Linked DNA regions of Homo sapiens: all the other regions are linked to region 3. Evidence: promoter capture Hi-C in human tissues and cell types (Jung and others, 2019). All regions are on one chromosome and are shown on one strand. Each heading gives the region's core, a stretch centred on a gene start or on the middle of the fragment in contact. The rest is flanking DNA. Distances are from core to core; before and after follow the strand shown. Region 1 overlaps KY (kyphoscoliosis peptidase). Region 2 has its middle 62 kb from the start of KY. Region 3 holds the start of KY (kyphoscoliosis peptidase).

Evidence for each region. The method cuts DNA at HindIII sites, captures the fragments that hold promoters and counts their contacts. A contact is called where the count stands out against the background at its distance.
Region 1: a contact is called between a fragment that was not itself captured here and the fragment with the promoter of KY in region 3, in 1 of the 25 tissues and cell types used here (pancreas).
Region 2: a contact is called between a fragment that was not itself captured here and the fragment with the promoter of KY in region 3, in 1 of the 25 tissues and cell types used here (stomach).

The regions. Positions count from the first base shown.
Region 1 is chr3:134,616,237-134,618,957 of GRCh38, forward strand. All of the region lies in intron 8 of KY (kyphoscoliosis peptidase), which reads right to left. It also overlaps a transcript of CEP63 not described here. Among named protein-coding and RNA genes, the nearest start is that of KY, 33 kb to the right of the region's middle. The HindIII fragment of the contact is 6,070 bases long and covers 1-2,721 here.
Region 2 is chr3:134,587,602-134,590,591 of GRCh38, forward strand. It overlaps a transcript of CEP63 not described here. Among named protein-coding and RNA genes, the nearest start is that of KY, 62 kb to the right of the region's middle. The HindIII fragment of the contact is 3,681 bases long and covers 1-2,990 here.
Region 3 is chr3:134,649,665-134,652,438 of GRCh38, forward strand. KY (kyphoscoliosis peptidase) reads right to left here and starts at 1,358. Exons shown (of 11, transcript NM_178554.6): 1 at 1,161-1,358. The coding sequence starts at 1,296. It also overlaps a transcript of CEP63 not described here. The HindIII fragment of the contact is 13,352 bases long and covers 1-2,774 here.

The DNA.
Region 1 (2,721 bases), core at 65-2,564, 33 kb before region 3:
TCAGTGACTTGGGACAGACAGAAGGAACTGAATGATGTTGTGAAAATATCTGAATTCCTCCCCAAATTACTTTATTAAATCAGTCTTTAATGAGACAATTTCAGGGAGGTGGAATGGACTGGCAAAAAGTAATGATGTCCACCCTGACAACCAAGAAGGGATAAATCAGCAAGTGCGGATTATATGTCCTCAGTTATTAAGGAATTAGCTAATTAATTTACCAAACTTTTGGCAGTTATTTTAAAGGTAAAGAGAGTTAGTAGAGGGATGCATAGATAGGTTACTGATCTTTAAAGAAACAGTTAAAGGAATTCAGGGGACCGTGAGCTATTGCTACACATCTCAGGCAGTGTGAGGAATTTTGCACATGGTAATCACCATGTTGGAACTAATTTTAAATGATGCAAAATGTTAGGGAGAGTTTTAATGATAAGCTGCAGGCCAGAATAGGGCCATTGTTAAGTATCTGGACCAGGGCAAAAAGCTGACAGTTTCACTCAAGGCAAGTGTCAATTTTCTGAATCTATGTAGGCTGGCAGAGTCTGTAGGAAAACTCCACAGAGCAAAAGGACTCCAATCAATACTCAAGAAAGACAAGATAGGTCAAAAAACACCCACCCCAAAATCGGGTTGGTAACCCCCAAACTGCAGTCTCATTGAGTCCTATAGCCCTGCCAGGTAGGCAATCTAGTCTCCAATATATAGATGAGAGCACTGAGGCTGCAAGAGGTTAAGGGCCTTACCACAAAGAACAAAACTAATAGGTGGTAAATTAAAAACTGGGAGCCAGGTCTTTCTGGCTTTAACTTTGGCACTCCTTCTAAAGGATGCTAGGATGCTTATACTGGATCAAGGAGGCGATACCACTCTAAGTGGTAGACCCAGGTCTTTCTAGCTTCAAATCTGGCATTCCTTCTACAGTATGCTAGAAAGCTTATACTGGATAAAGAGGAATATATCCTGGAACTTGGAAAAAATGCTAAGCATTTTTCAAATTTGTAAAATCAGAGGAAAATAATCATGTTCTGAAAGATGCTAGGCACAAATGGAGCTAAGAGACTTGTGGCTATTTCATCAGTTAAAAGAGAATTCCACATTCCATTCCACATAAGTCTGCTAGGAATATCCTGTCATTTCTATATATGTCTATTGAGGGCCTACTGGGTGTAGGATTCTGAGATGGGTATTCGCAGGGGAGGTAGAAGGAGAGAGGAGATAAAGGCAAATATAGACGTATACAATCGATAGGATGTATGACAACAACCGAGCACAGGTAATTCCTGTATGCACAGAACACAGTCTGGAAAGTAATATGACCAAATGTTACCAGTGTTAGCTGTAAGTGGTGAGATTCAGAGTAATAATTTCTTTTTTGCTTTAGTGCATTTTATAAACCATCTACAATGAATGGTATTTTTTAAATTTAAAAATGTTATTAATTGAAAGCATAAGGCAACACATGAGTTTGGTGTGCAACTGGGCTGGGGGTACAAAGGAAGGGGAAGGTTGTGGGCTGTCCTGGAGCGGGGCCTGGAAGGAGCTCTGGGGAGAGGGAGCAGGTGTGCATGCAGAGGTGGTCAGGAAGGTGGTGTCACACAGTGCAGGGCTGGAAACTTGGCTGAGGTCAGATTTTGGAGGACTTTGCTAGATAGTGTGATCCTTTAGTGATGTTAGGAACCCAGGACCAGGGAAGCCTGGACAGAGAGGCCAGTGAGGATCCAGGTTCCTGGAGAGGCCTGCAGGCAGCAGGAGGTATGCTTGGGTCTGGGGTAGGGGGTGGGAAGCAGCCTGGGTGGCATATTCTGTACCCTGACCCACCGTGGCTGCGTCTGGGGCTGTGGTCTCAGGGATTGGCCTTGAAAGTGAGAAAAGGGAAGTACAGGAAGCAGAGCAGGAGGCTTAGAGTAACTCAGCAGCCGGGTAGGTGCCTGTGCTTGGCAGTGGTGATGGGGGCAGGAGGCAGCACAACAGGGGGTTTGGGCCAGGAATAGGTTGCATGCACCCAGTGCTCGGCAGCTGCCGCCTCTGCAACACTGAGGCCATCACAACTGCCTGCCTGTGGACTAAGTGTTACACTTGGTTTGATGAATTGCCACCTGCAGTTCTGGTGGGCTGACATCTGGGTGCCTAAGAAGACTCACTCCCAGAAGCCTAGAAAGACAGTGGGCCGCTGTTCATCCACCCCCTGGGGAGGGGTTCTTTGATGGCCCCAGGGCTAGCTGACTGTTTTCTGGAGGAACCCAGCAGACCTCAGAGGGTAGGCTCAGGAAGCTGTGGGGGTCAGTGGCCATCCCCTCCCCCCACCCCACATCTTGAGCCTGTTTTGAGTCACTGGGAACTGGCAATGGCCTGTTCTCCTGCTCAGGCCAGAGCTGTCACCCACCCCAGCAACCTGGCCATATGCCCACTCCCAGAGTGCTGAAAATGGAGCCCAGCGACTCCAAGAGTAGCCGCTTCGTAGTGATTCAGCTGTCCAACTGACAAATCTTTTCAGGTGGGAGATCTTTTGTTTCCCCCAAAAGAGGCTCCCTGTGTCAGCCCTGAGGACAGCCTTTCACAGTCCCCTTGGCATCTGCAGTCACTGTCCTCCCGCTCCCAGGCCTGCCATTCTTTTAACCTTCAGCTGCATAGAGATGGGAGAAGGCGGAAAAAGGGCTTTTTATAACCAAATTATCTCTGTGCATTCATCTACCATTATGTTAATGCATCGCGAAGCCCGGC
Region 2 (2,990 bases), core at 1-2,500, 62 kb before region 3:
GTGTCTGTCGGCCCCTACTGGGAGGTGTCTCTCTGTTAGGCTACACAGGGGTCAGGAACCCACTTGAGGAGGCAGTCTGTCTGTTCTCAGAGCTCAAACACCATGCTGGGAGAACCACTGCTCTCTTTGGAGCTCACCTGGAAATGCAGAAATCACCTGTCTTCTCCATCGATCACGCTGGGAGCTACAGACTGGAGCTGTTCCTATTTGGCCATCTTGGAATGGACCCCCCTATAAAAAAAAAAAAAAGGAAATGGATGTTTTTAATACATCTCTCTCAGTAAACCTAAGTAAAGATGTAAGAGATTTGAGAAACAAGACTAACAAACTTGAATTAATGGACATATGAAGAAGATTCCACCCCAAAATGTCAGAATATGTCCCTCTTCAAATACAAGTAAAACTAATATTGGCTGAGCATGGTGATGACGTCTGTAATTCCAGCACTTTGGGAGGCCAATGTGGGCGATCATTTGAGGCCAGGAGTTCGAGACCAGCCTGACCAACATGGCAAAACCCCGTCTCTACTAAAAATACAGAAATCAGCTGGGTGTGGTGGCACGTACCTGTAATCTCAGCTACTCAGGAGGCTGAGGCAGGAGAATCACTTGAGGGGGATAGAGGTTGCAGTGAGCTGAGACAGTGCGGCTGCACTCCAGGCTGGGTGACAGAACAAGACTCTATCTCAAAAATAAATAAATAAATAAATGAAAATAAAACTAATATTAAACATATGTTGAGACACAAATGCTCAACAAATTCAAATGAATAAAATAATATAATCCTTGACTGAGTAGAATTAAACTAGAAATACATTTTAGATGGTATTTAAAAAAAATATCTAAGTGTTCGGAAATTAGGCAATACACTTGTAAATACACTTGGGTGAAAGAAATAAATCACAATTGAAAGTAGAGAATATTTTGAACTGAATGATCATGAAATGACTACACTCTTGGTGTGCAATTGAAGTTGTGCTCGCTGGGAAACTGGTAGCTTTAAATTTATATTTTAAAAAAGAAAAGCATTGAGAAAGTAAATGATCTAAATACTTATTTTAAAAAGGTAAGAAAGAGCAAACTAAACGTCAAGAAAATGGAAGGAAGACATAAGGAGTAGCAATTAATGAATTAGAAAATGAATGTTCAATAGAGAAAACAACAAAATCAAAAGTTAGTTCTTTAAAAAGGCTAATAAGATTGATTGAACCTCTGACTAGACTTATCAAGAAAAAAATGTAAAGATACAAATTACAAATATCAGGAATAAAAATAATAAAAAGCAAACAAGTGCAGATCTTACAGACAGTAACAAAAAGGCATCAATAACTCCTTGCCAACAGCTGTAAACATTTAAACACAATGGATACATTCTTTTAAAAACTCATCATACAAAATGGACACAAGAAGAATTAGAAAATCTGAAGAGTCATAAATAATTTTAAAACTGATCCTTAATTGAAAAACTTCCTACAACAAAAGTATCAGGCTCAGATGGCTTCATCAGTGAATGTTTCCAAATATTTAAGGAAGAAGTAAGCCTATACAACAAACTCTTTCAGAGAATGACAAAAGGGGAAATAATTCTCTTCTCATTTTATAAGACCAGCATAACCTTGAAACCAAATCTGACAAGGACATTTCAAAAAAAGACAAGTACAGACTCTCTTATGAATATAGATGTTAAAGCCCTAAACAAATTATGACCATATCAAATGATATATAAGAAGTGATATATAAAAAGAATAATCTATTATGACCAAGCTGAGTTTATTCCAAGCATGCAAGTTTTGTTTAACATCATCTGGAATAGTGAAATATTGAGCACTTTCTCCCTGAGATTGGGAACAAGAAAATAATACCTACTACCATCATAACTTCTACCCAGCACAATCAGATCAGGAAAAGAAATAAAAGGTAGAATGACAGAGAAGAAAAATTACTTATTCATCACTTCATACCAGTCAGAATGGCTATTATTAAAATGTCAAAAAAAAAACATATTGGCAAGGGTGTGGAGGAAAGGGAATGCTTATACACTGCTGGTGGGAATATAAATTATTTCAGCCATTATGGAAAGCAATTTGGTGATTTCTCAAAGAACTTAAAACAGAAATACCATTCGACCCAGCAATCTCATTGTTGGGTATATCCCCAAAGGGATATTAACTTTTCTACCATAAAGACACATGCATGCGTATGTTCATTATAGCACTATTCACAATAGCAAAGGCATGGAATCAACCTAAATACTCATCAATGGTAGACTGAATAAAGAAAATGTGGTACATATACACCATGGAATACTATGAAGCCATAAAAAAGCATCAAATCATGTCTTTTCAGAAACATGGATGGAGCTGGAGGCTATTATCCTAAGTGAACTAACATAGGAACAGAAAACCAAATATCACATGTTATCACTTATATGTGGGAGCTAAAGATTGAGCACAAAGAAGGGAACAACAGACACTGGGGCCTACTTGAGGATGGAGGGTGGGAGGAGGGTGAGGATCGAAACACCTATTGGGTACTATGCTTATCACCTGGGCGACAAAATAATCTGTACATTGCCAAACCACCATGACACTCAATTTACCTACATAAAAAACCTGTACATATACCCCTTAACCTAAAACAGAAGTTGAAAAAAATAATTATTCACAGGCAACATGATTGTGTGTGTAGAAAATCCAAAAGGACCTCCCTATAAATGATTAGAATTAATTAGTAAATTTAGTAAGATAATTGGATACTAGGTCAATGCATGACAATAGTTCTATTTCTACTCATTAGAAATAAGCAATTAGAAAATTAAATTAAAAATTTATATCATTTACCACATTATCAAAAATATACCTGCAAATACCCAGAAACATATCTAATAAAAGATGTTCAAGACTCCACAAAAATCTACCAAGCATTACTAAGAGAAAGCGGGAATTTGCTCACTCTAGAGTGGAAGATGGGAAAGGAAGAATGGGGCTGGAA
Region 3 (2,774 bases), core at 108-2,607:
AACATACTCAGCCCTCTAGATTCTGTTTCTTTCCCCTGCCTGCCTTCCCAAGAGGTTCCCAGGGCTCTGGAGGCAGCTCCAGCCTATGTGGCTGGTAGTGGCAAGGCCATCCACAGCAGCATTACTTAAGCAAGGCAGGTGGAAGGTGGATGTTCAATGAGCACAGAGGCTCTGGGGACAGAAGAACCAAGGGCAGAGCAGCAGCAGGAATTCCAAGGAGCTCCAGAGCTGGAGGGGAGGAGAGAGGCAGAAGTCATTCTCCTGCATGGGCTGTCAGGCCTAACTCCTAAAGAACTGGCCCGCAGTCCGCCTAGTGCATCCTCACACCAGCCTCGGAGACAGCTTGCCATCCAGGACCCTGAGGTTCTCTGGCTTTTCAGGGGCTTATTTAACCTCCATTATCATCCCTCTGTACTCCATTCACATTGTGTTCTGTCGTCTGGAGAACAGAGAGGCCCGGATCCTGCTTTCCACAATCACTCTATAAACAGTCACTTTATTTTACCAATCTACAACTTACAAATTTACCCAGAAAGTGTGTAGGACAAGTAAAATTGATGGATAAGTTCAAGTGGAGACAGCAGGTTTCAAATCTTACCCTATCCAAACCTGCGTTCCTTTTACGCCTTTCATGCCTTCCATCTATAGGAGGCTGGGAGAAAGTCTCAAGAAAGGAGAAACTGAGGCTGTAAATTGTGCAAGGCCACACAGGGAGCTCCCCATCTAAAAGTCTGACTCAGCCCAAAGGTTTCCCAGCGTCCCCTGTGCCCTGCAGTGTGCTGTGGGGGGGAGCAGGCCTCTGCTACCCATGAGTCAGCCCTGAGGCTCTGGCCGCCTTCCTCCAGGGTATCTTCCAATCTTGCTCTACACCCGTTAGGGAGTGGCTGGGAGGAAAAAGACTCCCAGGGGTGACGGAAGCACCCACAGGCCTGCACAGGGAGTGAAACTGGGGCAATCACGGGGCTGCGCGTTGCCACGGGACTGCGCGTTGCCACGGGACGCCGGTGCCACTGCGGGGAAGCGACGGCAGCCATGGGGGAGAGGGTCGGGTTCGCTGACCTCGTTCGGGGGAGCAATGGGCGCCCCCCGGCGGGCAGGCCCTTGTGGCAAGGAGGCCAAGGTGCCGGGGGACCCGGGGACCCGGGTCGGGCGCGCGTTACCTCCTCCGCGCTGCAGCAGCGAGCTCGGGTTCGCCTGCTGGTCTGAGAGCGTACCCTGTGCGGCGCGCCGCTTCTCCGAGTGCACGATCAGCAGCATGTCGATAGATACAGCGTTGATGTCCTTCTTCAGCTCCATGATGCCGCCTCCTTTCCGACCTGGGCGCCGCGGCCGCACGCTAGGCTGCTTGCGCTGCAAATGGCCCCGTGCGCGCAGCTGCCCCACACGGGAGAGGGCGAGGGCGCGGAAGAGGGCGCTCCCCCGCCGCTGGAGCCGCAGGGCGCTGCTTTTCGCTGACTCTGCCAAACACGCCATTAGGGCCCGCCTGGGAGGGCGCTACCCTAATGAAGCGGCTCTAAGTCACCTTTGAAAGGAAATCCCCGGGCCCAAGCCTTGACCTGCACCGGGGCCATAGTCAGCAGGGGCGGCCGGTCCAGAGCCTCCCTCCCTGCGCCCCTGCCTCCCGCCCGGTGCACTTGAAGCGCTGGTCCTGGGCTCCAGGGCTTCTCTGGCTGAGCGCTGCCTCATCCCCACGGTCTCCGGAGGGTTCTCGAGAGGGCTGGAGCCGACCTCCCACGAGAAGCCCCTGGCAAATACAGAAATCGCACAGTGCTGTCAACATTGAGAGTAGATTCAGGAAAAGGAAAGACAGCAAAGGGGCTCCAGATTGAATTGCAAGATGTGCAGAGATTGTCCAAGTTTTGGCCTCGACCTCACTCCTTCCCTGGGTTGGTTTTGGAGGTTGACAGCTCTCTCTCCCTAGGAGGGAGTTGGGTGGGGTGTTGGAGTCAGGAGCTCCCCCCAGTTACGGCCCCTGTAGAACTTGGAACATGCCCATTGAGTATCAAGCTAACGATCCTCTTTGATCTGAAACGAAAGTCTTAAAGTCTCGGTTCGTTCTAGAAGCCTGGCTCCTGCCCTGTGGGGAAGGAGGGAGGGGGAGAGGAGGAGGCTGGGGCACAGGGAGCTGGACCTGAGAAGCCTTCTATTTTTAGCCCGGCCTGGCCTGCCCAGCCAACAGCAGCAGGGGTTTGGCTGTAGGTCTCAGGAGTGTTTACATAGGCTTCTGCCTGGTACCCCTGGGCACTACGGGCCCACCCTGCTGGGGGCGTTCCCCTAATTCGAGTTTCTACTGTTAATAAATGCACCCCCACATGGAGGCCTTTGCTCTGGGAGCCCTCCCCGCATTGGAGTGTATGGACCCCACCTTGTAGCATGGTCCTGAGAGTTCCCAGATCCTCCTTGGAGCAGCCTGTGTCACACAGACTGCATTCCAGTACCAGCTCCATCACTTCCTGGCTGTGTGACCTTGGACCAGCCATTTTCCCTCCACCTTCTCACCCTTATCACTGGGTTGATAAAAATTTCTCACATGGCTGTTGTGAGAATGGCATGAATGTAAGGCGCCTGGTGTATAGAAAGTGGTCTTCATATGGTAGCTGTCATTCTTACTTCATTTTAAGGGTGAGGAAAGGGAAAGATGGAGTGACAAGTGACTGATGGAGCAGAGAAGCAGGAGAGATGTCACAGCCACACTCTGAGATTCTGAAGGTCTTCCTCCAATAACAGTGGCTCAGAGTTTGGTTCCGTGTAAAGGCTGTTGTCTTATTGCATTA